Linked DNA regions of Homo sapiens: regions 2, 3, 4, 5, 6 and 7 are each linked to region 1. The links are contacts of gene promoters, found by promoter capture Hi-C in blood cells and fetal thymus (Javierre and others, 2016). All regions are on one chromosome and are shown on one strand. The core of a region is centred on a gene start or on the middle of the fragment in contact, and the rest is flanking DNA. Distances in the headings are between cores, read along the strand shown. Region 1 holds the start of SNX14 (sorting nexin 14). Region 2 holds the start of ANKRD6 (ankyrin repeat domain 6). Region 3 overlaps TENT5A (terminal nucleotidyltransferase 5A). Region 4 holds the start of RRAGD (Ras related GTP binding D). Region 5 overlaps RRAGD (Ras related GTP binding D). Region 6 overlaps UBE2J1 (ubiquitin conjugating enzyme E2 J1). Region 7 overlaps PM20D2 (peptidase M20 domain containing 2).

Region 1 (4,024 bases), core at 401-2,900:
ATCAACTACTATTTAAGCTCAATAATATTTAAACCAAGAATCAACAAGAAAGCAAGGCCACTTTTAGGGAAGAAATCTAACTTCAACATAGTCACAAATAATGGTTACACCAGAGAAAAATGAAGTTACCAAATTCCTTGCGCATTCCTCCCTGTTGCTATCCTTGGGAATCAACTACCTTAAGATAAAGAGTAAGAATGGTTGCCTGTTCAAAACATCAGAGAAAACAGCTTGCGGATGCTGTCAATGAGAACTATCTCAGATTTCTTTCCACCAAAAGCAAATCTGGTGTTAATTTTAATGGAAAAGTCTCCTCTACTACCTATTGCATCGCAACAATTTCTTGAAATAGTAAAATGAAGTAAAACAAGTTTATTTCGGGGGCAGAATCTTCTGATTTCAAAATGTCAATTGAATTTATCAATTTTAACCTTTCGGAATATTTCAGGTTTTTTTGGGGAGGGTGGCATCAAGTCCTCTTAAGAATATTATAGGGATGTGGCCGGGTGCGGTGGCTCACGCCTGTAATCCCAGCACTTCGGGAGGCCGAGGCAGGCGGCTCACGAGGTCAGGAGATCGAGACCATCCTGGCTAAAACGGTGAAACCCCGTCTCTACTAAAAAAAAAAAAAAAAAATACAAAAAAATTAGCGTGGTAGCGTGGTGGCGTGGTGGCGGGCGCCTGTAGCCCCAGCTACTCGGGAGGCTGAGGCAGGAGAATGGCGTGAACCCGGGAGGAGGAGCTTGCGGTGAGCCGAGACCGCACCACTGCACTCCAGCCTGGGTGACAGAGCGAGACTCCGTCTCAAAAATAAAAAATTCTAAGGATGTTGGGACGGGTACCACTTTGCTTTCTGATTTCTGTCCAACAAATCTTTATGATCGTCTGTTTTATTCAACAATACTGCGGGAAAAGCTTCAGCTGCAAGCTGAGGGGGTGGGAGGTGGGGAGATGGAAGAACGCGCTGCAGGTGTGCGGATTCTGCCTAAAATTGCGGCTACGAACTGGACCTTGAACACTCCTCCGTCAGCTGACTTGACTGCCTGTGTACAGTCTCAATTTGAGCCGACACACGGATTTCACTTTTGAAAAGCAACGAAGATGAAGAACTCGTTTTGAGAAATGGATGAGAAAAAGGTAGCTCAGGAGACGAAGCCTCGGGAAAGGAGGCAATCAACCCCACCCCACCGGCCTGTGCTTCCGGCCTCGACGCTCCGCCGTGCTCCCCGAGGCCGCTCCTCTGCGGAGCTCGCTCTCCCCACTGGTCCCCAGTCCCGCAGCTACGCGGCCTCCGCACGGTTAAGCAGCACGGGCCGGGCGTCTGCACCTTCGGAGAAAAGCCGCCGCCCAGGCTCCGCGCTGCGGCGTTACCTGTTAAGAAGCAGGGAGGCGGCGCTGAGACAGAGCAGCAGGAAGCAGAACAGCGGGTACTGGCGGCAGATCTCGCGTCCCACGTCCAGTCGCAGCCGCTGCTTCAGCTTCTGCCCCATCGTCCGCACCCAGGGCACCATCTCCGTAACGGCGAGGCCGAGACTGCGCTACTGGCTGAGGCAGAGGTCAAGGCGACCCCCCATCCACACCTCGCGTCCCCGCCCCACCGACTTGGCGGCGCACACAGACGCCTACCGGCAGTTAGCCGCCGCAGGCTGAGGTCGCGTCCGGCTGGGCCCAGCCCCACGCCCCCCGCCGCGCGTGCGCGGCCGCGGTCCCCAGCCGACCAGAGGAACGGCCGTAGAACGTGCCCGAAGTCGTCACCCAGCGCAAAGCCTCTAGCGTCTCGCCGCTCCGCCCTCCTGGCCGGAGTAGCGCGCAGTCTTCCGTGGAAACTCTGACAACACTGGCGACCGGCCATTTCCGGAAATCAAAGGACAGCCCCAGCACCCAGTAACTGCCTGTATTGCGGAGGAGAGGGAAGAAGGTTGTAGGGAGCCCGGAAGAAACTACAGCACCCCCGTAGCCGCCGGGCGCTGCCTGAGGGGCAACCGGAGCTCGTGGAGCCCGCTGGGAACTGTAGTCTTCGTGACACGAACCCGCAGAGGGATGGAGCGGGTGGTAGCGCTTCCCCGACCCCGCAACGCTCCGCGCCTCACCGTACACTCGGCTCCGGGTGGGAGCAGGTCCGAGCTTTGCGTGACGCCTAAGGGAGAGGGGGATAGGAGGACGCCTTTGAGTCGGTATTTTAAAAGGGGTGTGTTGGGGGCTGGGGGGGTGGCGAGTAAAACAGCCCTAGAATAAAGACTACAACTCATCAGGCCGCCACCCCACCAACAAAATCTCTTTTGCGCGCTCACGGGCAAGGGTAGAGCTCAATTCACGCCGGCTCCGGGAGCCCAACCAAAATCCGAGTGCTTGGAAGAGGCAGGTTGGCAGATTAGGTAAAATCCCTCTTATAGAGTCTCATGGGGTTTTCCCTTTACTAATTCATCACATTTCTAAATTTTTTTTTCTGTATTGTCCGCTACAGTGAGAGATGCAGGAAGACTATTATCGCGAAAATTTACTTAGGCGGTACAGACACTAAGCACTTTCATTTGACCTTCATGCATTCACCCCATGGTGTAGGTACAGTACTATAGTTTCAATCATTATACAGGCAAATTACTGAGACAGAAAGGAACTTAGGATCATAAAACTAACAAAGCCGGAATTTGAACACGTTCTAAAGACAGAGCCTGTGCCTGTCATCTCTCTTTCCTAGGATCTTATCCTTCAAAGTGGGGAAACAAATGTTTTTTAATGATGTATGTAGTTTCATGAATATTTTCCCGTATTACAAAAACATGGATCTTTAATGATGCATTATTATCCTTTATCAGAATGTACCATCCTGTTCCATTATTGCTAACCACTAAAGTCCATTGATATTACCATCCTTGATGATAAACCTATGCACATTTCTAATTATTTAGAATCAACTTTAATACAATTACTGGGTCAAAGGGTAAAAACAAACATTCTTGATACAGTCAAACTGCTTTGTAGAATGGTGGTACCAACTCCACAGTGGTGTATAAAAGTAAACAATTTCACTGATCCTCACGATTAGCTATTATTGTCTAAACATCACAAATACACTTTTCTGTTTGTGACTAAACCATTTAAAAGACTACAGTGTAACATCATTGGAAAGCTTACCATTTTTTAATATTTCTAGGTACATATTTAAACATTTATTAATTTCACTTTGGCAGTTTTTAAGTATCTTTATCTGTTAATACTAAAATAGGTGTATGTTGAGTGGATCTACATGTATCAAGTGCCTCCTATGGACTTGAGTGCTTTACACTTTTGTAAATTACCTTTTAAAAAACTAATCTCATGACAAATAATGTAAGTTATTAACCTGCCTGGTAAATTATGTTGCCTTTTGTTTAAAACTTTTGCTTCCTTTTAAAGCCTTATTTTGAAATTACTCTTTTCACCAAGAGCCAGTATATTTTAAAGACAAAATGTTTTGAGTTCTGTTCAAAACAGACATCACTACAACATCCAATTAAAAGACTTCTTTCCCATCTGATTTCTTAGAGGCAATTAGAATAAGTTAACTGGACAATAGATAATTTAAATTTCCAAATTGCTCTTATGATTAGAAAAGGAAAAAAAATATAATAAACTTCAGCCATAAGGAAATTCTTTATGGCAGAGAATTTCCACACCTAAAGCATGAAACATAATTCAATTTCTGTCACTACGGACCTCATCTAAGGAAATAACCTTTATTTCATTACATGTCTTTAGCCTATGGTCTAGAACCCACCTTTACACGCACAGAGCTCGAAATTTTTTCCCCAACCTTGTTAAGTTCTGAACTTTGGAGAGGTTATATGGAATATCCACAATCAACCAACCCTGGTTCTGAAACTAGCTCTATCTCCTACTAGCAACATGTTAGCAAGATTAACTTGATCTATCTCACTCCTACCTCAACTCTAAAACAGAGCTATTTTCATAAAACAGGTGGGGGGTGGGGGCTAAAATGGGTGGAAAGTTGGAAAGTGCCTCTTAAATATCTCTGTACAATGCT
Region 2 (4,024 bases), core at 924-3,423, 3.8 Mb after region 1:
ATAGGCCCCCTTCCTCCCACTCTTCAGAAGGCGGTGGCCCCACCCAGGAGAGGGCTGCAGATCGGGGCCAGCCCCAGGGCCTCCGCGGTGCCACCTCTCTCTCGCGAGGGTCCCTGCCGTGCCCCGGCTCGCCGCTGGGAGGCGCTGCGGCACCGGCGTAGGAGCCGCCGGCAGGGGTGGGGCGGGGCCGGCGGGACGGGGCAGAGGGCCCTGCGGCGGCGGACGCGGCGGGCTCGGCCACAGGTAACCCGCAGGAGCCGAGAGCGCTGCCTGGCGCGCGGGCGGCTGGAGGCACGGCGCTGGGCGGCGCCGAGGCCCTGGGGCCGCCGGAGCCAGCGGGAGCCAGTCCCCGTCTTCGCCCCTCGCCCCCCACCGTGTCGCCGGCCTTGGTCCCTGCGGCGCGGACGTCCGGCGCGGGAGAGAAAGGTACCAGGCGACCTCGCCGGCTCCCTGGGACCCCCGCTTACACCGGGGTGGGCGCCTCAGGTCGGGGAGGACGCTGTCGGGGGAAGGGGGCGCTGCTCCCTCGGCACCCCAGGATCGCCGACTGCCCGCGGAGGAGACCCGGACACCGCGCCTCGCCCCCTGGCCTGCGGCCTCCGAAAACGCCCGGCGCGAGGGGGTCCCCCCGGGGCGCCTCCCTCTTCGCCTGGCATCAGTTGCCTCCCTGGAATATGGAACTTCGGGCGAGGGAGGTGGAGAACTTTCTTCTGGGGCTCGTCCCTCGTTCTCCTGCTCGCTTGCAGTTTGAAGGAAGGGCGGTGGGGGCGGGGGTCCGAGTACCCCGCGGTCTGCGGCGCGTAGGAGGGTAGGTCCCTGGCCTGCGGCCGCCTCCGAATGACCCCGTCCCTCCCCGCCCTGGACGACAGCACTAGGGTGCAGTCGCAGGAGAGGGGCCGATACCCCTCAGGAGCCCCATCGGCGAAGCCTCAGCAAGTGGCATCTCCCGGGGTCCAGAGAGTCGGCGTGCTGTCTGGTTTGGGTCCAGACATCAGCTCACCCAAGCTTATCTTGGGCTTTTAAGTGTGTTGCTTCCGGTAGATCTCGGGGACTGGAGGGGAAGTGCAGCATTATTTGTGACCCAAGAGGGACTTGAATGTCTCAAAGCTGGTCAAGAATGTTTCCCCCGCGAGGTAGCATGAGATGGGTCACGTGGTAGTAAAGAGCCACTTCGGGCCCGTGAGATGGAGTTCTGACTCCACCACTTGTTAGGTGTGTGACTTTGGAAAACCCACTTCTTTAAACCTTAGTTTTTAGAACTCTAAACTGCAGGTATTGTACATAACCTCGTAGTATTGTGTTCATGCAGTGAAGTGATGGGAATGAAATGCTTGGCATTGTACTCTTGTGTGTTAGACACCTTTTGCGAACCTGTTGGATGTTGAATTCATTCATGCTTAGGTTCTGTTAGGCCAGTGTAAGTGGAAAGAACTTGGGCAATGAAGACAAACACACCTGGGTCCAAGGTGGTCCCATCCATGGTATACTGATTGGGGGTTTCTCATCCCCAAAACACCAATAGCAGCCTTGGCGGGGTTTTTGTTGTTGTTGTTTTGAGACAGAGTTTCGCTCTGTTGCCCAGGCTGTAAGCTTTGACCTCCTTAGCTCAACCGATCTTCCCACCTCAGCCTGGGACCACCACACCTGGCTAATTTTGAATTTTTTTATTTTACTAGAGACAGAGTCTCACTGTGTTGCCTAAGCTGGTCTCGAACTCCTCCTGTCTCAGCCTCCCAAAGTGTTGGGATTACAGGTGTGAGCCACTGTACTGGTCTGCAGCCTTGTTCTTGAGTGTAGTAGGTGTGTCTATACCGATACATGTTACACTTTGTCATCTTTAGTATTTGTTTAGCATATGGTAACAAAAAATTTTTTAAAAATTAGGGATACAAATTAAAATTGGGGAGTATTTTCTGCCCTCTAGGTCATACTGGACATGGGGGAAGGGTAGAAGAGGGATGAAGAGGAATTAAAGAGACCAGAAAACAACTAGTCGCAGTGTTGGGAGGTATAAACCAATGGTAATTTTTAAAAATGTGAATTTATTAACTCCTTGTTTTTTCATGGTGGCACCAAAAATTAATCTTAGTCTCCCACTTAAACTCATCAGCCTCCCCAAAGCCTTTCCAGATAAGCATATGCTCCATGTAAAAGCAGACTGCCTGCGATCCAACTCAGCTTAGAGACAAGGCACACTTCCAACTCCCAAGGCCTCCTTCTTGTATAGAGATGCTGGTGCTGCCACTGTGAAATACATCATACACTCAGACAGTATAAACCTTAGAGTGCAATGTAAAGAATAACAATAGATCACACCCAAGTACGAGTCACCCGGCTGAAGAACTAGAACATCGCCAGGCCCCTGGAGCCCCTGAGTACCCCTCTCCATTGCCTTCCACTCACTTCTCGCCTCCCACCCAAGGAACCACTATTCTGGATGTTGTGTTAACTTTTTCCCTTGCTTATATGAAAAACCCTGAGGAAAGGAAGTTTCCCAACAAGCATTTCCACAATAACCTGGAGCATTCTTTATTTTTCTTTTTTTCTCAAGGAGCATTGTTATTGAACTTAAAAGCAGGCTATTGAGGGTAAGATACAAACCACAAAAAAGCCGAAAGTCTCAAAGTCGGGGGATCTTTTAGTCTCTGTCTTCTTCCAAGTTTCTCCTGTCTCCCTGGCACGGATCCCGAAGGTGTGTTCTGTCTGTGTAGGGGAGACCCAGTCTCTTCCAACATAGATTGATGGCTGTGATTTTAAAAGCTTTGCTTGAGTCCCTAAGAAGTGGGAAAACAGTAATTTGGGTGCGTGCGTTTTAGAAGTTTTTTTAAAAATGCAAATTATCCAGAAGGCATTGTGTGGGATTTGAAGGATTAAGCTAAGAGTGACCTTTAAAAATGGTTTTAACAACCCAAATTCCTCTTCCTGGTTGATATGTTTGTGTTATTGTCTTTGTTTTATTTCTTCAAGGTCACATGGCTTTCCTTGGTGAATCTTACACTGTTTTGTTACTTCTTGGTTAAGGCAAAGATTCTGAAACTTGGTTTCATGGAGCCCTTAGTGTCTGAGTTAATTTTTTCACAATTCCCTTAGGCTTCAGTAGTTAGTAATTTTTTCACAATTCCCTTAGGTTTCAGTAGTTAGTAGTTAGGTTCAAACAACTGAGTATTTACTTAGAAGTTGTTTGAAAAAATAATATACATAAACTGAGAGAAAAAATATTTTACATCCTTTAAAGTCATAATTACTAACCGTATGTGTGTGCCTATACTACTTTTCAAACCTTGGGATCGTGTTGGACACTGCCACTCTCATTTCCTGTTTCACATTAATATTTCCGCAGCATTTGGCTTTTATCACAGCAGCCACAGAAAACCCAGCTTTGCAAAGATGTATTGTCTTGGATAGGAATGTAACATGATCTACTGTTGAAACTGCAAACTACCTCCAGTTAATAGGTTCAGCAGTGTCCAGACATGTTTGGTATACTAGTTTCCATTGAAATTTTCAGATTTTCTACATTGCCCATTTTAATTTGCTATAGTTGCAAAACACCCAGTCAGGGGGTCCAAAATAGTAAACTTTGAAAACATTATGCTAGGTGAAATAAGTTAGTCACAGAAGGGACAATATTGTATGATTCTGTTTATATTAGGTACCTAGAGTAGTCATACACATGGAGACAGAAAGTAGAATGGTAGTTACCAGGGGTAGGGGGAGGACAGAATAGGGAATTCATGTACTATTTTTGCAACTTCTATGTAAGACTAATATTATTTCAAAATAAAGTTTTTAAACGTTTTTTAAAAACAAATTCTGTTGATGGTGCCCCACTGCTGGACTGTACCAAGGCACTGAGGTTAGGGACAGCAGCAGAGAAAAGCTTAGGGGTGACATTATCTCTATTTCCCAGCTCTTCCTCATCCCGTCAAGGGGGAAGAGATGGAAGAAATAGCTATGTTCTCTCTCTTTTATAGGGAAGTGTCTGCATTATTTACTGGTGGGTTCCTTTATAAACCTGAGGATC
Region 3 (4,024 bases), core at 492-2,991, 3.8 Mb before region 1:
AGAGGAATGCAATTTTTTTTTTAATAAATGGGTTCCAACTGTCAAAATGGCAGTTCAATATAAAAAAGAGTGCTCTGCCAAACAAATATTCTCCCATTTGTGGAATTTTATGGCTCACCAAAGAAAAAAAAAAAAAGAAAAAAAAATCCCACTAAAACAGTATAATTTCTGCTCTTCCTATGAAATATATTACTTGGTTCCCTCCTTCATTTAATTTTTTTAGATGTGGATTTAATTCATCATTGCAATATGCCCACGTCTCATGTTATCCTGTTGAAAACATAAAAACACACAGTATTTAAACATTTCCTATTTGAGACATTATTCTAGATCATAGTCAATCTACTGTGTATATATACATATAAAATGTATATATAAAATGTATATATACACACACACATATAATTTATACACACATACACATGTACCTATGATAATATCAGATCAACAAATGTTAACTTTATACAAGTATTTGCAAGAAAAAATAGGGCATTTTCTCCACCATTCACAAGCTTATGTTATTTTCTTCTTGAGGCAGTCCCTGATAAAATAAAATAATCATTAAACCATAAAATAATTTTGCCACTTCAAATTTTCAGAAGGCAACAGGCACTTTGATGTATATTGGTGTGTAACAAATATAATCTCTCTTCATATAGTCTACTATATCTCTTCTAATTGGGTATTTTTATCTGTTAAATCTTTGGTCCTTGAGCACACTTTCTTTGTTACAGCTGTTTTTGCTTGCATTTTTACATTTTAAAAATGTGATCTATGCACGCAGCTGGAATTAATGGATTGTGTCATCATAAGTTCTGCTGATTGTTACGAGAACTGCACCAACCTACTACTGTTCATTTGGAGCAAGCCGTTTGTTAGCAAAACAAGATCATTCCACAGAAAGCACTTGCTACAAGCCTCAGACAGTAATCCCAACGTTGGAGTTCCCCTTTTTCCTGTATTGTTACTATTAATATCTGAACTCCTAAACTGATTCACAAGTTGGAGTGAGACCTTTTTTCCTCCGTATTTTCCCTTTTATGAATTCCATCTTAAAAGAAACTTTCCACTTTTTTTTTTCCTATGGCAAAGCTATGGGAGCAGATACAGCAAACCCATATTGTCATCACACATTTCTTCTCTTGTATCAGGAGAACCTGGTTGCTTCTAATGACAGGTCTCTCTTTTTTTGCAGGATAGAATCCAATTGGGTAGGAGAATAAGAGAAGGGAAAAGGATCCTTTCGAGATCATGCTCCCACATCTATTAAAAGATACATAAGCTTTGCCAAACTTAAAACCAGGAGCATATCATCATTGCACAAAACACATCCCTAATAAGGGCTGGATCACTCTTTTTTTTTTCTTTTTTTTTTTTTTCTCTCCTGTCTTGTCTGAAATGGCTTCCCCACAGGACATTTTTAAATGATTCTTAATTGCAGGGTAGCCAAGTGGAGTAGGTCTGTTGCTGGCACGTGAATACTGGCTGAACCTGTGCAATGTAGTAATTGCTAAAGTTGGCATCTGCTACATAGGGGGCTGGCTGGTAATAGCAAGTGACATTAGCCACATTAGGAATGACATTTTGGTCAGCTAACACCCGGATAGCCAGCATGGTGATAAGGTTTAAAGTCTGTCTTCTTTCATGTCCCATCAGGCACACTGTGCTCTCATTTACCACTCCATGAAGGGTCATGAGATACTCATACTTGCGGTCTTCCAATCCCACAAAGTGGTTCTGCAAATAGGACTCCAGTTTTCTCTGCTGCTCTCCAATGTCTGAGAAGTCGATGAAAAACCTGGAACACATATACCTTTGAAGGGTCTTGATTTCATCAGAGGCGGGCCTAAAGCCCCTCACCAAGAGGTTGCAGTACTTAAGCAGGCCTCCCCCTCGGATTTCCTCTGGGTTCCTGGTGGCAATGATCTTGTTACAAAGGTGATCAAAGGCTTCCTGGAAATCGCCATAGACGCTCTCCCCGATTATTGTGGGGTGAAATGTCTCAGTCATTGGGTTCTCTGAACATTCATAAAAGAGCAGAAGAGAGTCTAATTTGATTTGAAAAGAATCTACACTGAATTCAAACTGCCTCCGGAGGGAATCCACAAATTTCAGTTCCACATTTTTGCCACTGTTGTTTGACAGGGATATAAGACTCCATCGGTCAGAGTCATTGCACACTTTAACCATTTTCTGCACATAAGCTTCCTACAATTTAAAAGATAAAACAAAATGAGCAAACCTAGAAAATAATAAATCAATAAATAAATACATCCTCTTCACAGCTGAGAATTATTTTGCTCTTTCCCTTTTGTTTTGTCAAGTTTCAGCCAAACACTACCTACAGGCTTAAACGGTCTTCTGAAAATAGAAAAAAAATACTTTTAACGAGTAGTTTTACTGTCTGGGAAAGGGACTAGAGGTAATAGTTTGAGGCTTTTGGCAGACGTAGCACAGTAGTAAGAGGTTTTGTTGTCATGTCTGACTTTTTAAGTGTTACTTTTTGAAAACGGTCTAATAGGCACAATATTCACACAGTATCCAAACAACATTCAAAAGACTCGGAAGGGCATTCAGCGGTAGGTTAGTCAGCCTCTCGCCCTTGTTCCAAGCCACCCAATTCCTCTCCGCCTGCGGCAATCAATGTTATCAGTATCTTGTGTGTCCCTCCAGGGGCACCCTGCAGTTACAATCAAATATAAACTAAATTATGACATTCCAGGAGCCTGCCTCCTCAGACAATTTTAACTAATCATATAAAACCCGTCTTGAACTAAAGTGGAGGGTGGGGAGGGGGTGCCACTATACCCTTAACATATGAACCAGCACGAAGAACCACCAGATAGACCTTTAACACGTAGTCAGCTGAATGCCGCTGTGAAATCTATTCACCTTTTCCAGTACAATAAAAAACTCATTGACTCACTTCTGCTTCAGGCTGTTATTTTCCCAAAGGCTAGACTCAAATATAATGACTCAAAAATTATTTACATCATTTCATTCTGCCAAGTATCAGAATCTACTCTGGACAAGACTCCAACAGGGAAAGCCAAGAGTTAAAACATAAGGAGAAAGAAGAGAAGAGAGGGCAGAGGAGGACCTGGGAGAAGAGTTGTAGCGCCAAAGCATCAAGTAAACTGAAACACTCAACACCGTCCACGCACGTCAGTTTACTGGTTTAAAAAATCAAAAATCAAAGAAATAACGCGCGCCCAAACTCGTGATGGCCACAGATTCATGGCATTTAACCGATGCCCCTCTGCCCGCTCCCCGTCACACCCGGCCCAGACTGGGTCAGGACCCAAGTGCATCTCGGGTGGTGTTACCTTGAGCGTGAGTGGTGTGATCTTCTCTTTGTTCACCCCCTCGGGTAAGAAGTCCAACAGGCAGTCCAGCACGACGTCCTTCACAGTCTGAAACTCCCCTTCCCCGCGCAGGTCGGCGCAGAAGATGAGGTCCAGGTCCTTGTAGCCCAGGCCGCTGTCCTGGTGCAGGACATGGCTGGCTGCCGAGCCGTTGAGGCGCACGTCGCGGACGCCAATGCGCTTCTCGGCCAGGCGCCGCCGCACCACCTTCACGATCAGGCTCGGCTGCAGCTCGAGCGTGGGGAAGTTGCCGCGCCCGTGAATCGGAATGGTCTCGCTCAGGATGCCGTCCAGCCGCTGCACTTGCTCCCAGTTCAGCACATTGCAGTGCGCCGTAGGGCTTTCGCAATAGTCCAAGCAATGCCCACCGAAGCTGCCGCCACCGCCGAAGTCGCCGCCGCCGAAGTCGCCGCCGCCGAAGTCGCCGCCGCCGAAGTCGCCGCCTAGGGGGATGTAGGGGCTGCAGGCCAGCTCGTCCTCAGACATGGCGAAGTACCCTTCACCCTCCGCCATGTAGTGCCCGCCGAGCGCCACTTGGCCCTGGTCAGTCCTAAAAAGAAAGGGAAAGGAGCGCGGTGAGGACGCGCGGCGGCGGAGAGCACGCGCGGCGGCGGAGAGCAGAGGCCCGCCAGGAAAAGAGCGCCCCCTCCCCCGATAGT
Region 4 (4,024 bases), core at 1,008-3,507, 3.8 Mb after region 1:
CAAGTTTGCCTTTACGTTAACAGCTAAGGAGCCTCCAAGTCTGGGCTCTGGGGAAGCCCTTTGTTCCGGGAATCCCATCCCTCAAGCAGGGCTTTAATTTCACTTCAATTTCAAGTCCCCAAATCAAATTTTAAAAGTGCCCACTTAAAGAACTGCAGAATAAACGAGGGGTCCAGTACTTTTTCTGGACCCTCCAGGCCTCAGGACAGTATCAAATTACAGGGCTTTCCCTCCTGGATATGGCCCCTCCGCCCCCCCACTTTTTTTCTTTTTTAAAAAAGAGAATCCCACACACACCCTACTGTGTCCACCATTTCAAATACCTTGCAAATACATCCCTATTCTGCATCTCTCCGGAGTCTTCTAAGAATCTGGGAGGAGCTAACAAATGGAATTTGAATAATAATGAGGCGACTGAACAATTTAATTACGGAAGGTAGCTCTAGAGACTCCAATAAAACGGCTGAAAGCCTTTATCTACAAAAATGTGGCCTGGTGCTCAACGGTAAGACCAATTACCGGGAGTGCAGAAGACAGAAAGCACAAAGGTGCACACATCAGTTTAAGCAAATGAGGAATTAGCACAAATCATCCCAAGAGAGAAAACGCTATGAAAAAGGGTGACTTGAGAGGCTGCTTTCTCATCTACCAGGCGCAAGGCATAGTTAACTTTATTTCCTTTCTGATTCATTGAAAGTCGTGCCTGCCAGATGTAGAATAATGAAACTACCCTAGTGAGAAAAGCTTTGCATAGAGAATTTAAAATAAGTTCAGTGAATTCTCAATAAAAGTTCTTTAAAAATCAATAGTCACAAAGGTACTTGTATCTCTCACACAATTTCTTCAGTGTGAAACATTAAAGTTAGTTCCTTCTCTTGGATGCATACAGTTTCACTGAGAATAACATCATGTTTAACAGCCGCTTTCTATTGACCTTTCCAAGTGACCTTACAGTAAAGGAACTTTTGCTCGCTTCTGAGGGAAACTAAAAAAAGTTTAACCTCTCTGGAATACTAAAAGGCTCTCAACTTCCTTACACCTTAAGAAAATGCAGGAAGCCCCCACAAGCTGAACGATTGCTAAAACCCGCTTCTAGAACAGGAAAAAGAGTTTGCTTCACTATTGAAGCAAAGAATTCCCCGCCGCGCGCTCACTCCCGGGCAGGCACTGCCATGTCCAGGTGGTGATACCGAGAGCAGATAAGGTGTCCTGACAACGGTGTTTGCGTGGATCCCGGGAAATCTGCGGCCTCTCGGAGACTCCCACAACAGCTTGGCGAGCATCCCCCCGCCGCCCCGCGGGTCTCCCCAGCCACTACCTGGGTGGGCCCCTCCCGCGGCGACGCGGGGCGAGACTGACACCCGCAGCTGCCGACGACCCTGCCAGTCACGCCGCCGCCGGCTGCCTTTTTTTAGCCACGACATCTGACCCTGGCTTCAACAGCACCGTTCTGGGAGAGAGGTCCCAGGGCGCGCCCGCGGTCCCCTCCCCTCCCCAACCGCCAGACGCTGCGGAGAGCTTGGGGTGAGGGGCGCGGGAGGCACCGGCTCTGAAAGGGGCAGAAGCGCGCGCTCCTCCAGCCCAGACGCTTACTCCCTCCTTCCCCTTTTCCACCGATCCTGGTTGCCCCTCCGCCACCAGCACCGCGCTCCCTCATTTGGCAGCTCGAGGTCGGGCTTTTGGCGTCCCTCCCCACCCCAAACCCTCAACTGGACCCGCTCCCCTGGACCCCCTCCAAGTCGGTGGCTCGCGCACGGCCGGGCTGGGGGCGGGAAGGCGCCAAGGGGAGGAAAGGGGCGCGAGCCGAGGACGCGGGGGCCGGGCGCTCACCTCCCTCCTCTGTGCCGCTGTCCGGATCGGCGTCGGAGGAGTCGGGCCCGTCTCCGTAGTCCGCTAGCCCCACCAGCTCATCCTCCTCCTCCTCCTCCTCCGCGTCGTCCTCGTCCTGCGGCTGCGGCTTCCCCAGCACCTGGCTCATCGTGCCCACCGGCCGGCCGGCCCGGGGACGGCGGGGGTCCCGGGGTGGGGGCCAAGCCTCCTAGCCGGCCGCCCGCAGCCTATTTCTGAAGCGGAGGTTTGTCTAGAGCTCAGCGGGGCCCGGCGGAAGCGGGGGCCGCGCGTCCCCCGGCGGGCGGCGCCCAGGTCCGGGTCCCGCGGTTCCCAGCGCGCCCGAAGCCCCCTCCCCCGCCCCGCCCGCCGGCGGAGGAGTCAGCCGGAGCGCGGCAGTTCCTCCCGGAGGAGGGAGAGAGAGAGAGACTGCGTGACCCGAGTCACCTGACACACACTGTCACATACTCACATACACACCCCGCACGGGCGCGCGCGCGCTCGCCCGGCCGCGGGCACCACTCGGCGGGGCGCTGGGCCGAGGACACACATGCACACGCACACGCACACGCACGAGGAGACCGGGGAGGCGCGGGGCCCCTGCACCCTCCCAGACTCACACCGACACACGCCCCGTACACGGGGCCCCCGGGACGCCGGCCGTCACCCACCGCGGCTGCGCGCCAGGGGCCCCCACGCGCCTCTCCTTCACGTGGTCCCCGCACAGGCAGGGGAGGGGGCGCCGCACACCCTCAATGTCCCCCCCGCCGTCCCACTCCCACACGCCCGCAGAGCGTCTACCGTGGGCGGATGCCTCCTGCTTACAGTCCTGAGCTAGGGTCCCAAGCGGGTGGCCTCCCAACACTGTGGCGCCCAGATCCCCCACCCCAGAGCAGCGTGCCCAGGACACCCTGTGGACGCTCAAGAGCCCCAGGCGGAGAACTCAGATAAATGCACAGTGGAGGCGCAGTCTCCATAGCAATTGTCTTTTAGTGTGCCTTTATGGTTCAAAGTGCTTCCCACCAAGAATATTTAAAAAGCAGGCCTACCCAGACGTAAATGTTTCTGAAGAAATCACATGACTCGTGGCTGCTTAGACTAAATAATTCCTCTGCAGCCCTTTGGAAAAGGTCTCAGTGTATAACACACTCGGGGGCTATTCATGGCCACCTCCTCATGTCTCATTGTTGCATAGACTGTAATCCCACATGAATAAAATATTTCAAGGCTTTTGTGGGAGTAGGGGAGTGGCGGTGGTGGGGGGGCAATTCTCAAATAGGAATAGCAGCAACGTGGAGTGAGACTCTAAAACCTGCATTCCTCCTTCACAAGCTTTTCACCACGGAACACACTGTACCCACCCTTTCTGGGTACTGCAAAAAATTACGTGGATGAACTTCCTTCTGTGGAGCACAATAAGAAAAAACCGGCCGGTCAGCATGATGATCCAGCTCCTACAGGTGCCAGCAGCTCAGCCGGTGGTGCGGTGCAGAAGCGGAGGGAGGAAGCTAGGGCAGGAGACTCTCAGGGCCCAAGGGTGCTAACCTCCATAGGAAACATTTATTAACCACCTCCTATATGCCTGAGGCTGGGCTAAGTAGAGGGTCCAAGAATGCTCAGGGCAGTGTTCCTGCCCTGAAGGAGCTCACAGTCTACCAAATCATGACTCATGTCCTGGATTTTTTTTAGTATTTCTGAGTGCAGAAGGTGGATGCAGACACTTTCCAGAAGGTGGCTGCTTCTAATGGGAAAGGTCCTGAGATTTTCCAAGGGAGGCAGGCAGTATAATTTGGTATGACTGTATCAGTTAAGGTTCTTCCCAGGATGAAACAGACGGTATGTGCAAAGACTTTAACTGAAGCCTTCAAGTGAAGGAACAATTTACAGGGGTGTGGACAGAGTTTAGGGAATCAATGCAGGTATTAGCGATAGTGGGAAGATAACACCACCCCTAAATTTACAGGAGTGAGGAAGGGAGCTAGAGTCCTGGAGAGGGGCCACAAAACAGGAGCTGTAACTGATGAGGAAGCTGCTGCTGCCAGAACGGCCTCACATCAAGGAGAGAGCAAAGACCTCTCTTTCTCTCCATCCATCCTCCCTCCACTCTCCTGTGTCTCCCATTGGCCAAACCCATCTGGTAGCCAGAAGGCAAGGGAGCCTGGAACCTAGTCCAGGACAGAGATTGGATAGGGAGGGC
Region 5 (4,024 bases), core at 902-3,401, 3.8 Mb after region 1:
TTTGACCTTGGTTGCCTCATCTGAAAAATAGAAATGGTAACAGTACTTACCTCTTGGATTTATGAATTTTAGTTATGCAAAAGTACTTCAGAGCAGTGCCTGCGGCATATTGTGTGTACTCAATCAGTATCTGTTATTACTAAATACTTCTGTTGAAGACAAAATTTTCTTTCTCTTAAGCTCAACATCACTACTGATGGAAAATCTTGGAAATAATTATTTCAGATCAGGTTTTCCAACCAGGAACAGGATTTCATATTTGAGATATAACATCTAATGCTAGCCCCTCTCTGAGAACTCCTAGGGGATCTGAAAAAGGTCATTGTAGGATGGAATCTTACTAAGCAAAGTTAAGAATGATAAGGTAAACTGTTAGGAAAAGGATTTCCATATGACTAGGGGATTAGGGCCACAGCAGCAAGAGTTAATATCTGAAGTTTACTGAAGTAACAGTTCTACAGCCCTAACTGGCATGTACCCATCAAAAATGTGGAGATGTAAGAGAGTTTAAAAATAAAAGCATAAATTAAATTTAAGTAGTGAGATTTATCATCATTTCCATAAAATGAGAGCTGGTTAATCAGGACAAATAAATTTTACCAAATGGATGTAACAGGGCCAATGAAACAGTGACATACATGTATGGTAAGCAACCTCAGAAACAGGAAAGGCTGTACTTCCTTTTCACCAAAGAGACAATTCTGCTCCCAGAAAGCTTAGCTATGAATACACTTGAAATGAGAGCTTTACCAAAGCATGAACCTAGGACACATGCTTTTAAATTGGCAGTTAACATTCTTGAAAGCAATGGCTTAACAATGGTTATTAAGTGATGTACTGCTTAAAGTAAAACATGGACTATACCTGATTACAAATTACATCCAGTCTGTACAAGTTGAATACATACCATACTTTAATAACCAAGACAATTCAGCTGTTTTTCCAGAGTATATTTCAAACAGAGTTGGCATATAACCCGTATGTAACAATATTGCTGTGATTTTAGTCATATTTAAGGGTCCAAAATATGTTCACAAAAGAACAGTTTGTGAATGTCAACCAGTTTTTGCTTTATATTCCTTCAAAAACATTCCACCCTGGTCATTCACACTAATCTACATCACTGAAAATAACCAAAATAATTCACAGTCTCACCTCTATGTAAAAATTCTAATTGACTCAACAGGGAAAGGACTGCCCTGCTCCTTTTGAGGAAGGAAACCTGCAAGGCAAGTTCTCAATCCCTAAAACCAAGCAAAAATGTTCCAGTGCAGTTGCTGTAGCCATGTATTTAGGATTTGTATTTATAGAATTAAATTTGAGAATGAAACATGGCCATACACATCGCAATAAGCTGCCTCTCATATCAAAAATACAATGCAAAATGACTTGAAGACATTTCCAATAACACAGATTTGAAAAACTGAACGCTTAGACATAACTCCTGCATCTTTCTTTAATTAAGAAGTCATTGCCACACTTACAAAGTTAGAGGCAGTAATCTATATTAGCGTGTGATTAATCAAAGAGTACACTTACTACCATGAACTTGGGCCCTATGTCATAGAATTATTTTTGCCTTTCCCCCAAAGAATCATTTGCTCTTGAAGTAATAGGCTTTTTAAGGCACATTTTAACAAAAACCCATCATATACCCAGCTTAAACATGGAAGCTCCAACCTGGTTATAGTAATAAATATACCTAAGTAATGTGTGATTTACCAAATAGGCTAGTGTCTCTAGCTTGAGGATAAAGTCATATTAGAAAACTGATTCTTCATTTGCTTATTCAAAGTGAAACAACATGTAAAAAATATTAGAGAATTAGATTTATAACAATAACCCCTAAGTGTCAGGTCTGTTGGCAAAGGTCCAACAGGATATAGCTCTGGAAATCAGGGAGCCCTGGGCTCCTAACCATCCAGGTTTCGGAGTAGGAATCATGAGGAAAGGAGTTAGGGCACCTTAATTATTTTTAGAAATCTCCTTTCAAAATGCACAGAACCTTGGGAGGCTCAAACCTTAAACACCAACCAGATATCATCTTAAATTCAGTTACCAGCTTCAAAGAAACAGGACTTGGGGAGAGGAAGGAGAGAGGTTGGAAAGAAGCCACAGAGAGAAGTGGGAAAGTTTAGGCTGGGCACAGTAGCTCAGGCCTGTAATCTCAGCATTTGAGGAGGCCAAGGCAGGAGGATTGCTTGGGGCCAGGAGTTTGAGACCATCTTGGGCAACACAGTGAGATCCTGTCTCTACAAAAACAAAATTTAAGAATTAGCCGGGCGTGGTTGTGCACACCTGTAGTTCTAGCTACTAGGGAGGCTGAGGTGGAAGGATCCCTTGAGCCCAAGAGGTAACAGTGAGCTATGATTGTACCAATGTATTCCAGCACAAGCAACAGAATGAGGCCCCCCTCTAAAAAAAAAAAAAAAAAAAGTTTCAAGTATAAGTTGCTTTAGGGACTTTATATATTTTGCTAGGACCAACTTTGATGTTCTTAGGAGGCTCTGCTTTAAAAAAAAAAAAATCTCATTTTCTAATGCCCCACAAGCATGCCTTAGGGTGCTAACCCTTGAGATGCACGTAAAATTATCTACTTGGAATGATTTGGCATAGGGGTAGATTTAGGACTCTTAATTTCCTGTTAGTCTAAAGTAAACATAAGTGAAATAATTTCACAGAAACAATTACACAGCTAATTGTAATGTCTCTCCAGCCATCCTTTTCCCACTGACCTTTAGGGGTCTTCAGGATGACTCTTCAGCCTTGCAGAGCATGCTGGTGGCAGGCTGAGCTTGGCTTAATCATAAGGTGGGAACAAGTGGAGTACATGAGGCATGTTATCACCAGTGAGAAGGAGATGTGGAGGTGACAAAAGTGACTAACAGGATTGAGCTCCATGGTGGGGTTCTGCGATTTGTTCTATTCACTATGGTCATGGAGCAATAAAGAACTGGTCCTGAATAAGCATTTTAAATGCAGCACACCAGACCATCGCACAGGGCCAAAAGTCCAGAATTGTATCTATGTTTTTTAGTCTGCAGTTGCCAATCACATACTTTTGGAACAACTTTAGGCCTCTGATGTTACTTTAGCCCTGGGTGGTAGGTACAGAAAAGCCTCCAGAAACCCTACAATTCAGTGACATTCTTACTTCTCTCCAGTGTTCGGCACCATTTTGGAAATCTGGTCCCAAAGTTTCAAAAGAATACTAATGCAACAAAAAGAAATAACCTCTCTGTATAAAGTGATTATAGAGATGTGTGTTGAGGTAAACAGCTTCATAAAAACCGTTGAGCAGGGAAGCACAGCCACTGCTATAGAAATTTTTAGGTAAGTCTGGTGCTAGCATTATTCTACAAAACTGTTTACACCCATTATAAATAGGGGACAGTTCTTATTGCTCCTGGAGCTTGTAGCTCCAATCTGTTCCAGCTCCACTGAAAAATGATTTTTCTCAACAATTGGTAGCAAAGATTTCCAAATTTACAAAAAGTCATTACCAATGCATCACTTTTTGATTAATTTCTGATTGCCATATAGATATGGACTACAGTATGCATGTCCTTGACACCAAGTACAGAAAAAAAGCTTAGAAAAGTCGTTTTATCAAAGTTCAGTTCAATGAGAAACATGAAAAAGTGCAAAATATGTACAATTCCTGGCAGTTCTCACACGGGATTTTTTTGACTACAGACCATAAAAGTTTACATTTGTGTAATGAAATGACAATGGATTTCACATCACTGTTAATATACAAGTTTTTGCTTCAAAGTGCTTACTTTATTTATAAAAGAGAAGATCAAGAGGGTTGCAGGAATTTTTTTTTTTTAACAACAAATCAATGGTATGTGTCCCAATCTCCTTCTTCCTCTTCCTTTAGTGCAACATGGCGCAGCAGCCTCATGGATAAGGTCTGATTTCAAAAGACATTCCTGAAACCTCACCTACAGCAGCACTCTAGGGGTCCCATTAGGGGTGGCTCTCTTTTTCTTCTGCAGCCGATTCTGAACCTTTCGAGATT
Region 6 (4,024 bases), core at 860-3,359, 3.8 Mb after region 1:
CTCTTGTTTCCATAAGCTATTTTTTTTGCAAAAATAACATATATTATGAATGCTTCAGTGAAAAGAAACAGGGACTCGATTTAGAGCTGCATTAAAATTCTGACTCTGACATTTTGTAGCTCTAAGTCCTTGAACAAGTCACTTGATCTGATGTTTACATCTGTCAAATAAGAGTCAATAATTTCTCCACAAAATTCTCCTTTCCTTTTCACCCCTCCTTCCTGCCCAGTCCCTGAGTCATTAAGGTTGAAAATGGACTGGTATATAAGGCCTTCTCAATGATTCTTCCTAACTCAAAACCATGCCTCAGCAGATTTCGCTGGCCTTATGATATGGCTCCCTGGCTCCTGAGGAGAAATACCACTGTTAGGAAACAGTCATGGTTCACAGTGCTGCCTGGCAACCGGGCTACAGCATAGTCTGCCCCTCCTGATACTCCATCTCTTGCTTCTACATGGCTAGAGAGGAAACTTTTATTCCAGCTCCTCTCCTATCTCTTGGAAAGGTTTTTCCATGGAATCCTTTCACTGTGGTGAGATAAGATGTGCCAGGAAAGGAAGGGGTGGCACCTGGATGCCTGCTCTTGTTCTTCTTTCTTATAGAGGCCACATGGACACTCTGGAGCCATGCTCTAGGTGCTGTGGGCCTAGGCATTAGCATTCTTCACACACCTTGGCTAGCTCACTAGCCTCACATTGGGGTTTGTATACAGCTAAAAATAAAGGGATCTTCTACAGGCCACTGCTTCCCATATATGGATTCCTCTTCAAAAGCAATTATCTTGATATTATCAATTCCCAAAGCATGAGTGAAATGCAGGAGACAGGTATATTAAGGAAGGCATGCTCCCTAACTGCCTCTTCCTGCTCCCATAATGAAGGTACTTAAGCAAATGCCTACAGAGTGATGTTTCTGCCCAGGAGGACCCTGCAAATGTATCAGTTCAACAAACATTTAAAGAATGTCTGAGTGTTGGAGATAAAACAATGACCAAGACCTGCTTCTTGTCTTCCGTAACAGTCAGTAGAGAAAGACATGAAAATAATTACAACCAAGTGGTAATATTGACCAAGTATATATGTACAAGTATATATAGGAACTACTTTAGTCTGCCTAGGGGAGCTAGACAAGGCTGAACCTTAAAGCTTGAAGAACTATAGGAATTTCAGATGGATTTAAAGGAAGGCATTCTAAGCAGAGGTTCCAACAGGAACCAAAGCACCTAAGTGAGAAAAGCTACTCCAGCTAGAGAGTCATTCAGGCAAAATGGATAGGTAAAAACGCAGGCCTGGTGCAGTGGCTCTCACCTGTAATCTCACCACTTTGGGAAGCCAAGGTGGAGGGAACACTTGAGCTCAGGCGTTTGAGACCAGCCTGGGCAACATGGTGAAACCCTCGTCTCTACAAAAAATACACAAATTAGCTGGGTGTGGTGGCACACACCTGTGGTCCCTGCTACTCGGGAGGCAGAGGTGGAAGAATCACTTCAGCCCAGGAGGTTGAGGCTGTAGTGAGCTGTGATGGCACCACTGCACTCCAGGCTGGGAGACCCTGCCTCAAAAAAAAAGAAAATGAGGAAGAGCATAAGAGTGGTGGACAGTGAGGCTGGTGAGGAAGGGCAGGGTCAATCATGAGCAGCCCTGTAGGCCAAGCTAAGCAGTTTACTTTGAACTTTATTGACAGCTATCAGAAAGCTACTGAAAATTTTTCAATTTGGGGGTAATCAGTTTTTGTTTTGATTGATCTGGTGACAACAGTGACTGATTAGATATATGTGTTTCTGTGTGTGTATTGAGTTGTGTGTTTCAGGGCAGGGATGGAGCAAGGAAGCGACCAAGAAATAAAAAATGACTCCCATAGGTGCCTGAGTGCTGTCTATCCCTGAGATATGAAATACTAGGGTAAACTGCAAGTTTAGGGGAGGAGAAGAAAACTGATGAGTTTTGTCTTTATACTTACAGAGATTTTTTTCACTCTATGGGAAATGAAGATGTTGAGTCACCATAAGTTCTGTGTATCTATAGCTTACGAGAAGGGCCTGAGTTGGACATGAAACCTTGAGTGGATTAGTGGGAAGGTGCAGTTGACACCAATGGCATGGATAGGTAACTCTTAGACTTCTGGTGGAGGCAGTGGGTACTTTTGCACCAGTCTCTTATACTCCCACCACCTGCTGCACATGTCAATGGCCCCCTGATGAAGAAGCTGCCAAAGGAGGTGCTTTATACACATTTCTTCACTTTGTACTATAAGACCCTACTTCCTTGGCCAGAGCAGACCCAAACACGGGTCAAGTAGCTTGATCCATAGACAACTATTGACAGATTATAGACAAGTAGCATGATCCATAGACAACTACTGCTACTACAGTAGCAGATCCATAGACAACTACTGACAACTACCACAGACAACTACTGTGAGGTGATCCTACACAACAGCTCTATCCATAATCACAAGTCCATTCCAAAAAAAAACCATAAAGCAAAAAGTTTCCCCACCTATGAAATGAAAAAATTTACTATATCCACATGCTAGTACACTGGCCCTTAACCAGCTATCTGTATTGTCTTCACTTAATCTTTCCACTCATACATCAAAGACAATCCCACATCAGATAAAGAGTAAAAGATTATATCCCTCACATTGTGTGGTTGTTTTTTGTTTGTCTGGTATGTTGGTATTTTACGTGTGTGTGTGTGTGCACCCTGCCATACACAGGAAATTGGAGTTTTCAGTTGCTCCCCTTCACACAGGCATTACTCTAAAAATACCACAGGACTGAGAATAAAGCAAAGGAAGGAAGTATTTTCACAATGCCTCCCAGCATTTTCAGTAAGTCCCATATCTTACCTAATTCAACTTCTCCATGAACTCCAAATAATTCACACACTAACAAAAATAGATTTTTAAGAAGCATTGTGTTTTTTTTTTTAGAGCAGCAACACTATCTTTGAGGAAATGAAACCAGAAAAAGGAAGCAATTTATGACACAGCTAGAAGCATGTCAACCAAAGCTCAACCAGCTGACAATAGTTCACATACTTTGGAAATATACAAAATTCTGGAGATTTTTAAAAGCTTATCATCATAGTATTAAGTCTAACCTATCGAAATTGAGCGATGTTTTCTGACAACAATCTCTTGGGTTCCACCAGTTCTCCATTCTAAACTGCACTACTACTCACATGTGCATTATCCTCTGGACCTTTCACTAAGCACCTCTGCTGTCCTAAGGAACCGTGTGACCAGGGAGCCACCATACATTTTTACCCAAACAGCTCCAGTTAAATATACCACAATGTAAATAATTCAATCATTTTACCATCTAGCTTAAAAATTAAGCTTTTCTTTCCCTCTTTCTCTTTGGTCTTTTCTTCCTCCCTCCCCACCCCGGGATTCTCTTTTTTTTTTTTTTTTTTTTTTTTTTTTTTGAGATGGAGTCTCGCTCTGTCGCCCACACTGGAGTGCAGTGGCGCGATCTCGGCTCACTGCAACCTCCTCCCCGGGTCAAGCCATCCTCCTGCCTCAGCCTCCCGAGTGGCTGGAACTACAGGAGTGCGCCACCACCATGCCCGGCTGATTTTTGTGTTTTTAGTAGAGACGGGGTTTCACCATGTTGGCCAGGCTGCTCTCCACCTCCTGGGCTCAAGCCTCCCAAAGTGCTGGGATTACAAGCGTGTGCCACCGTGCCAGGTCTTCATCAGATTTTTTTAAGGAGTCAGTGGCTCCTAAAATATTATGACCAGTTCTACACACTTGGTCACCTAAGGACATTTCTTAGCCTGACAGCACTCAGGCTAACAAAGCTCCCTCCAATCAATATCCTCAGGCTTTTCTGGGGTTTTTGCATATTCTGAAACCTTACAAAAAACCCAAAGATTCACAGTGTCAACTCTTTCCACAAGGATGCTAGTCTTGCTAATTCCTACTGAGAAACAGCTTTTTTTGGAAGGAAATTTTAAGCAACAGCAAAAGTTGGTGAAATCATCACTAATATCCTAGAGTTTATCATGCAGAGTTAACT
Region 7 (4,024 bases), core at 1,033-3,532, 3.6 Mb after region 1:
TGGGCTTCCTCTGCGAGTACGACGCGCTGCCCGGCATCGGCCACGCCTGCGGCCACAACCTCATCGCTGAGGTCGGGGCGGCGGCCGCGCTGGGCGTGAGGGGGGCCTTAGAGGGCCTCCCCAGGCCGCCTCCGCCCGTGAAGGTGAGGTGGGGCCCGGGTGCGGGACCCTATCCGACTGCCCGGGTCGGGGGCGACCCGGGAAGGGCGGGACTCTCGTGCGTCCCGCGCGCCTCGGTGCCCTCCCGCCCGGGGCAGGTGTGTGTGGGACCGCGCTAAACCTGCGGTCCTCGCCTCGGCGCAGGAGCAGAGCTGAACCCCCAGTCAAAGTCAGTTCGCGTTGCCGACCTGGCGACATCTTGCAGATTATTGTTTCCTCCTCTCTAGTTATAAACAGCTCTGCTGAGTTGTTCCCTTAGGAAAGAACTTACACCCAAGCCTGGTGTTTGTTACGGGTTATTTTTGGTAACTGAGAGAGGCAACAGCAATTTGCTGACAAGGTTGTGCCATCAATCTCAGGAGGAAATAACTTCTTGTAGGTAATCCTACGGCCCCTTTTTATTCGTCTCCAAATAAATCTTTTGTTTGTGGCAGTCCTAGAAAATGTGATTCAAGTCATTGGTATTTGGATAGGAATTTTCAGTCGCTAGAACCACCAGACCCCTAGAAGTATACAAATAAAGGGGAAGTGAATGAGCATTATACATAGATGAGTTCATCCTTAAGTCTTAATTTTTTTGTTTTATGATTTTAAGAAATACCTCGACTCTTTAAACAGGGAAATGTCGTTTATGTTTGTCGTAGGGCAAGTTTAATCCTGTTTTACTCTGCTTTTCCAGATGGTATATTCTACACTATGAGCTAAGATTCAATCGTCATTCAGTTAAGGGGAAAACAAATGTTTTATTTTCATACTCTTTAGTTCATTTCCCCCAGTGTCAGTAACCTTCCTCTTTTATCCTAACACTACATCTTTTGTGGCTTTTTCACTTTAGCTGCCTTCTTTTTTCTGTCTCTGGAGGCTCGTTTTTGCATTTGTTAGGTTTTTGTTTGGGTTGGGGGAAGCATGCTTTGCCATGTCACAAACACTGGAGAGATTTCGCTTCAACCACGTTTTTAAAGGTTCTGAGTAGTCAGCGAGAGACATATCGTATTTAATGAGTTAAGGGTCAAGAATGAAGAGCGGTGGGCAGATCAGTTGAGGTCTGGAGTTCGAGACCCGCCTGGCCAACATGGTGAAACCTCTGTCTCTACTAAAATATATTAAAAAAAAAAAAATTAGCTGGGCGTGGTGGCTCACGCCTGTAATCCCAGCTACTCGGGAGGCTGAGGCAGGAGAATCGCTTGAACCCAGGAGGCAGAGGTTGCAGTGAGCCGACATCGCGCCACTGCACTCCATCCTGGGCAACAGAGCGAGGCCTCCTCTTAAAAAAAAAAAGAGCGGCGGCTTCATGTCAGAGTTTGAGCACTGTAGAACCGCCAAAAAAAAGCTAAACTTTGAGAAATGTACACTCTTTTTTTTTTTTTTTTTTTTTTGAGACAGTCTCATTCTGTCGCCCAGGCCGAGTGCAGTGGTCCTATCTCGGCTCACTACAACCTCCGCCTCCCGGGTTCAGGCGATCCTCGTGCTTCAGCCTCCTGAGCTGGGATTACAGGTGTGTGCCACCACGCCCAGCTAATTTTTGCATTTTTTAGTAGAGACAGGATTTCGCCATGTTGGCCTGGCTGGTATCGAACTCCGGATCTCGGGTGATTCGCCCACCTCGGCCTCCCACAGTGCTAGGATTACAGGCATGAGTCACCGCTCCCGGCCCACTCTTCTAACTTCAAATGGTTGTTCTCAATTTTAGCAAGGTTAAGTTATTAATTATCTGAAAATGGAATTTAAGTTGATTTCCTTTGCAAGCCAAGACTTTTCCAGCTTGTTTCATTGTGTTCTTATACATGATCTTGAAAATATATTAGTTGTTTATTTTGATTTTTAAAATTGTTTGAAGCAGTTAAGCTTAAATATCAAAGTAAAATGTTTATTCTGTAAAGTTCTCTTTTGTTTAATTAGGTGTTTGGTGACCAATAAATCTGCCTGGTTGAACTGGTGGAATCGAATTAGTAAGTTTGTGTAATAGTTGGCTGTTTCTAACTGTGGCATTAAGACTTGTTTAATGTTCTTCATAAAGGATTAATGAGTTCAGACTTTTAAAATAGGTAGCCCAGTAAGGAATCAGAGTTTAGGCCAGAAGATCAGGACATCTAATCCTAATTCTGCCTGAAGACTTGCTCTGTGACCTGGGGCAAGACACTTCACTCAATTCCTCAAAAACACCCCCTGTAAAATGATGATAGAGATCACCCACCTACCTCACAGGGTTGTTGTGAGGATAAGTAGTAAGTTAACAGAAAGTTTCTGACTCGTAAAGTACTTAAGAATAATTATATACATACATACACTGAAAGGCTTAGTCGAGAGGAACCTTTTTGAAACAAATCCTAACAAATTTTGAGGGACTAAACTTGTAGTATTTTTTTTTATCTTTGCCATTAGTTGACTTGTAAAATTGGGAAAAGCTTTTTATAGTGTCTTTAGTACATACTTTGCACCAAGTTGGTATAACAATGTACATTTTGTGATTAATTTAGCACCATTTGTTGATGCCCATTGCGTAAGCGTCATAGAACAAAACCTGTCTTAATAGGTTAAGGACTTTAATGTAGATTGTGAATACATATGCAGGTGAACCTGTTTGATATATTCCTATGAGGATTTTGTTGTTTTTCCCTGACATGAGTATTTCCTTCTAGGTAGTTGTCCTGGGAACCCCTGCAGAAGAAGATGGTGGTGGCAAAATTGATTTAATTGAAGCAGGGGCTTTTACAAATCTTGATGTTGTTTTTATGGCCCACCCATCACAAGAGAATGCTGCTTATCTACCAGATATGGCTGAACATGAGTGAGTAATCAAGTTGAAGATAAACTTCTTAGGGGAACACAGGCTATAGAATACTTTTATGTCTAAACCAGAGACGAAAACTCCACATTTGTATATTTAAGAAGTAAATTGAAAGACAATAACAAGATGTCTTGATCTATGGAGTGACATTTGGCAAGCCTCTTCTAATTGAGATTCATTATGGTGTTCATAATTGGAGTATTAAAATAGTAGCACTTAGAAACCATAGGAATAACAAACATGTTGACAATTAAGTTCTCTTTTGAACTGTCAATAATCTGGTGTCTGGAAAACATCTGTCCTTTCATATGAAATTGTCTTTGCAACTGAATAGATTTGCGAGAGATCGTTCTATTAGCTATGGGAAGAAACCACACTTATCCATTTTATTTACTTTAATTTGAGTTCTTTGCAAAGAGGATAAATTATGTCCTGAGAGAGAATATGGAACATGAGTAGCTATGGTTTTTGTGGAACTTCTCATTCTGTGCTTTTCCGATTTGTCTGGTGCTGAAACCTTTTATTTGTCTTTCTTTATGTTGAAGAACTCACTTTTTAGTACCTAGGAGCACACATCATTGAAGTGGTTTGGATTTTTTATACCAGAAATTTCAACCATAGTAGTAACTATAGTAGTTAATGGTCCAGGCACAAGGAGCCAGTGCTCAGCTGCTTCAGCAAAACCATGTGTTTTCCTCAGAAGTAGCTCGGTACTGAGGGAATGATAGCAGAACCATCACAGCAGTGCTTCTAGATTGTACCCGGGTATCCCACCTCTTAGCACCTTACCAGGCCCTGTTTTCAAAGGGTGATCATTTTAACTATTAGGGTATCTTCCTTCTTATCACTGGAAATTGGTACTGTGGCAGTAGGAGGAATCTTTGAACTTTGGTTTCAAGGGTGGTGGTAAACTAGTCCATCTCTAGAAAACACTGGGGATTAGAAATCTCTGCCCTTGCCTTTGACTAGAAGGGGCCTGCATATGCAGGCAGGCTCTGCAGCTCATTACCCTTCTGGGACTTAAGGTTAGGCTTCGTGGTCTTGGTTCTGAAGTCAGCGCACTTGACCCCAGACCTT

What was found. Contacts are between HindIII fragments. The CHiCAGO score rates a contact against its expected background, and 5 or more counts as called.
Region 2: a contact is called between a fragment that was not itself captured here and the fragment with the promoter of SNX14 in region 1, in 1 of 17 cell types (total CD8 T cells). The highest score is 5.1, in total CD8 T cells.
Region 3: a fragment that was not itself captured here is called in contact with the fragment with the promoter of SNX14 in region 1 in 1 of 17 cell types (monocytes); the score reaches 5.6 in monocytes.
Region 4: a contact is called between the fragment with the promoter of RRAGD here and the fragment with the promoter of SNX14 in region 1, in 4 of 17 cell types (M0 macrophages, non-activated CD4 T cells, erythroblasts and 1 more). The highest score is 9.6, in M0 macrophages.
Region 5: a contact is called between a fragment that was not itself captured here and the fragment with the promoter of SNX14 in region 1, in 3 of 17 cell types (non-activated CD4 T cells, total B cells and monocytes). The highest score is 8.2, in non-activated CD4 T cells.
Region 6: a contact is called between a fragment that was not itself captured here and the fragment with the promoter of SNX14 in region 1, in 3 of 17 cell types (M0 macrophages, non-activated CD4 T cells and monocytes). The highest score is 17.5, in M0 macrophages.
Region 7: a fragment that was not itself captured here is called in contact with the fragment with the promoter of SNX14 in region 1 in 2 of 17 cell types (non-activated CD4 T cells and naive B cells); the score reaches 11.1 in non-activated CD4 T cells.

What each region holds. Positions count from the first base shown.
Region 1 is chr6:85,592,208-85,596,231 of GRCh38, forward strand. SNX14 (sorting nexin 14) reads right to left here and starts at 1,651. Exons shown (of 29, transcript NM_153816.6): 1 at 1,372-1,651. The coding sequence starts at 1,511. RefSeq lists enhancers at 142-727, 728-1,311, 1,312-1,895, 1,344-1,513, 1,824-1,943 and a silencer at 1,574-1,793. The HindIII fragment of the contact is 2,215 bases long and covers 914-3,128 here.
Region 2 is chr6:89,432,950-89,436,973 of GRCh38, forward strand. It overlaps ANKRD6 (ankyrin repeat domain 6), which reads left to right and starts at 203. Exons shown (of 16, transcript NM_001242809.2): 1 at 203-426. LOC124901360 (a long non-coding RNA gene) reads right to left here. Exons shown (of 2, transcript XR_007059675.1): 1 at 468-4,024. RefSeq lists a silencer at 1-474. The HindIII fragment of the contact is 1,170 bases long and covers 1,589-2,758 here.
Region 3 is chr6:81,748,264-81,752,287 of GRCh38, forward strand. TENT5A (terminal nucleotidyltransferase 5A) reads right to left here. Exons shown (of 3, transcript NM_017633.3): 2 at 3,327-3,915; 3 at 1-2,208. The coding sequence starts at 3,878. The coding sequence ends at 1,432. Among named protein-coding and RNA genes, the nearest start is that of TENT5A, 2.4 kb to the right of the region's middle. The HindIII fragment of the contact is 922 bases long and covers 1,281-2,202 here.
Region 4 is chr6:89,410,016-89,414,039 of GRCh38, forward strand. RRAGD (Ras related GTP binding D) reads right to left here and starts at 2,258. Exons shown (of 7, transcript NM_021244.5): 1 at 1,831-2,258. The coding sequence starts at 1,978. RefSeq lists silencers at 1,215-1,314, 1,345-1,454, 1,485-2,674. The HindIII fragment of the contact is 2,415 bases long and covers 743-3,157 here.
Region 5 is chr6:89,364,109-89,368,132 of GRCh38, forward strand. RRAGD (Ras related GTP binding D) reads right to left here. Exons shown (of 7, transcript NM_021244.5): 7 at 508-4,024. The coding sequence ends at 3,948. Among named protein-coding and RNA genes, the nearest start is that of UBE2J1, 13 kb to the left of the region's middle. RefSeq lists an enhancer at 3,929-4,024. The HindIII fragment of the contact is 2,876 bases long and covers 714-3,589 here.
Region 6 is chr6:89,347,669-89,351,692 of GRCh38, forward strand. All of the region lies in intron 1 of UBE2J1 (ubiquitin conjugating enzyme E2 J1), which reads right to left. Among named protein-coding and RNA genes, the nearest start is that of UBE2J1, 3.0 kb to the right of the region's middle. The HindIII fragment of the contact is 1,933 bases long and covers 1,144-3,076 here.
Region 7 is chr6:89,146,467-89,150,490 of GRCh38, forward strand. PM20D2 (peptidase M20 domain containing 2) reads left to right here. Exons shown (of 7, transcript NM_001010853.3): 1 at 1-143; 2 at 2,799-2,947. LOC101929004 (a long non-coding RNA gene) reads right to left here and starts at 400. Exons shown (of 4, transcript XR_942766.4): 1 at 1-400. RefSeq lists a silencer at 1-335. The HindIII fragment of the contact is 560 bases long and covers 2,003-2,562 here.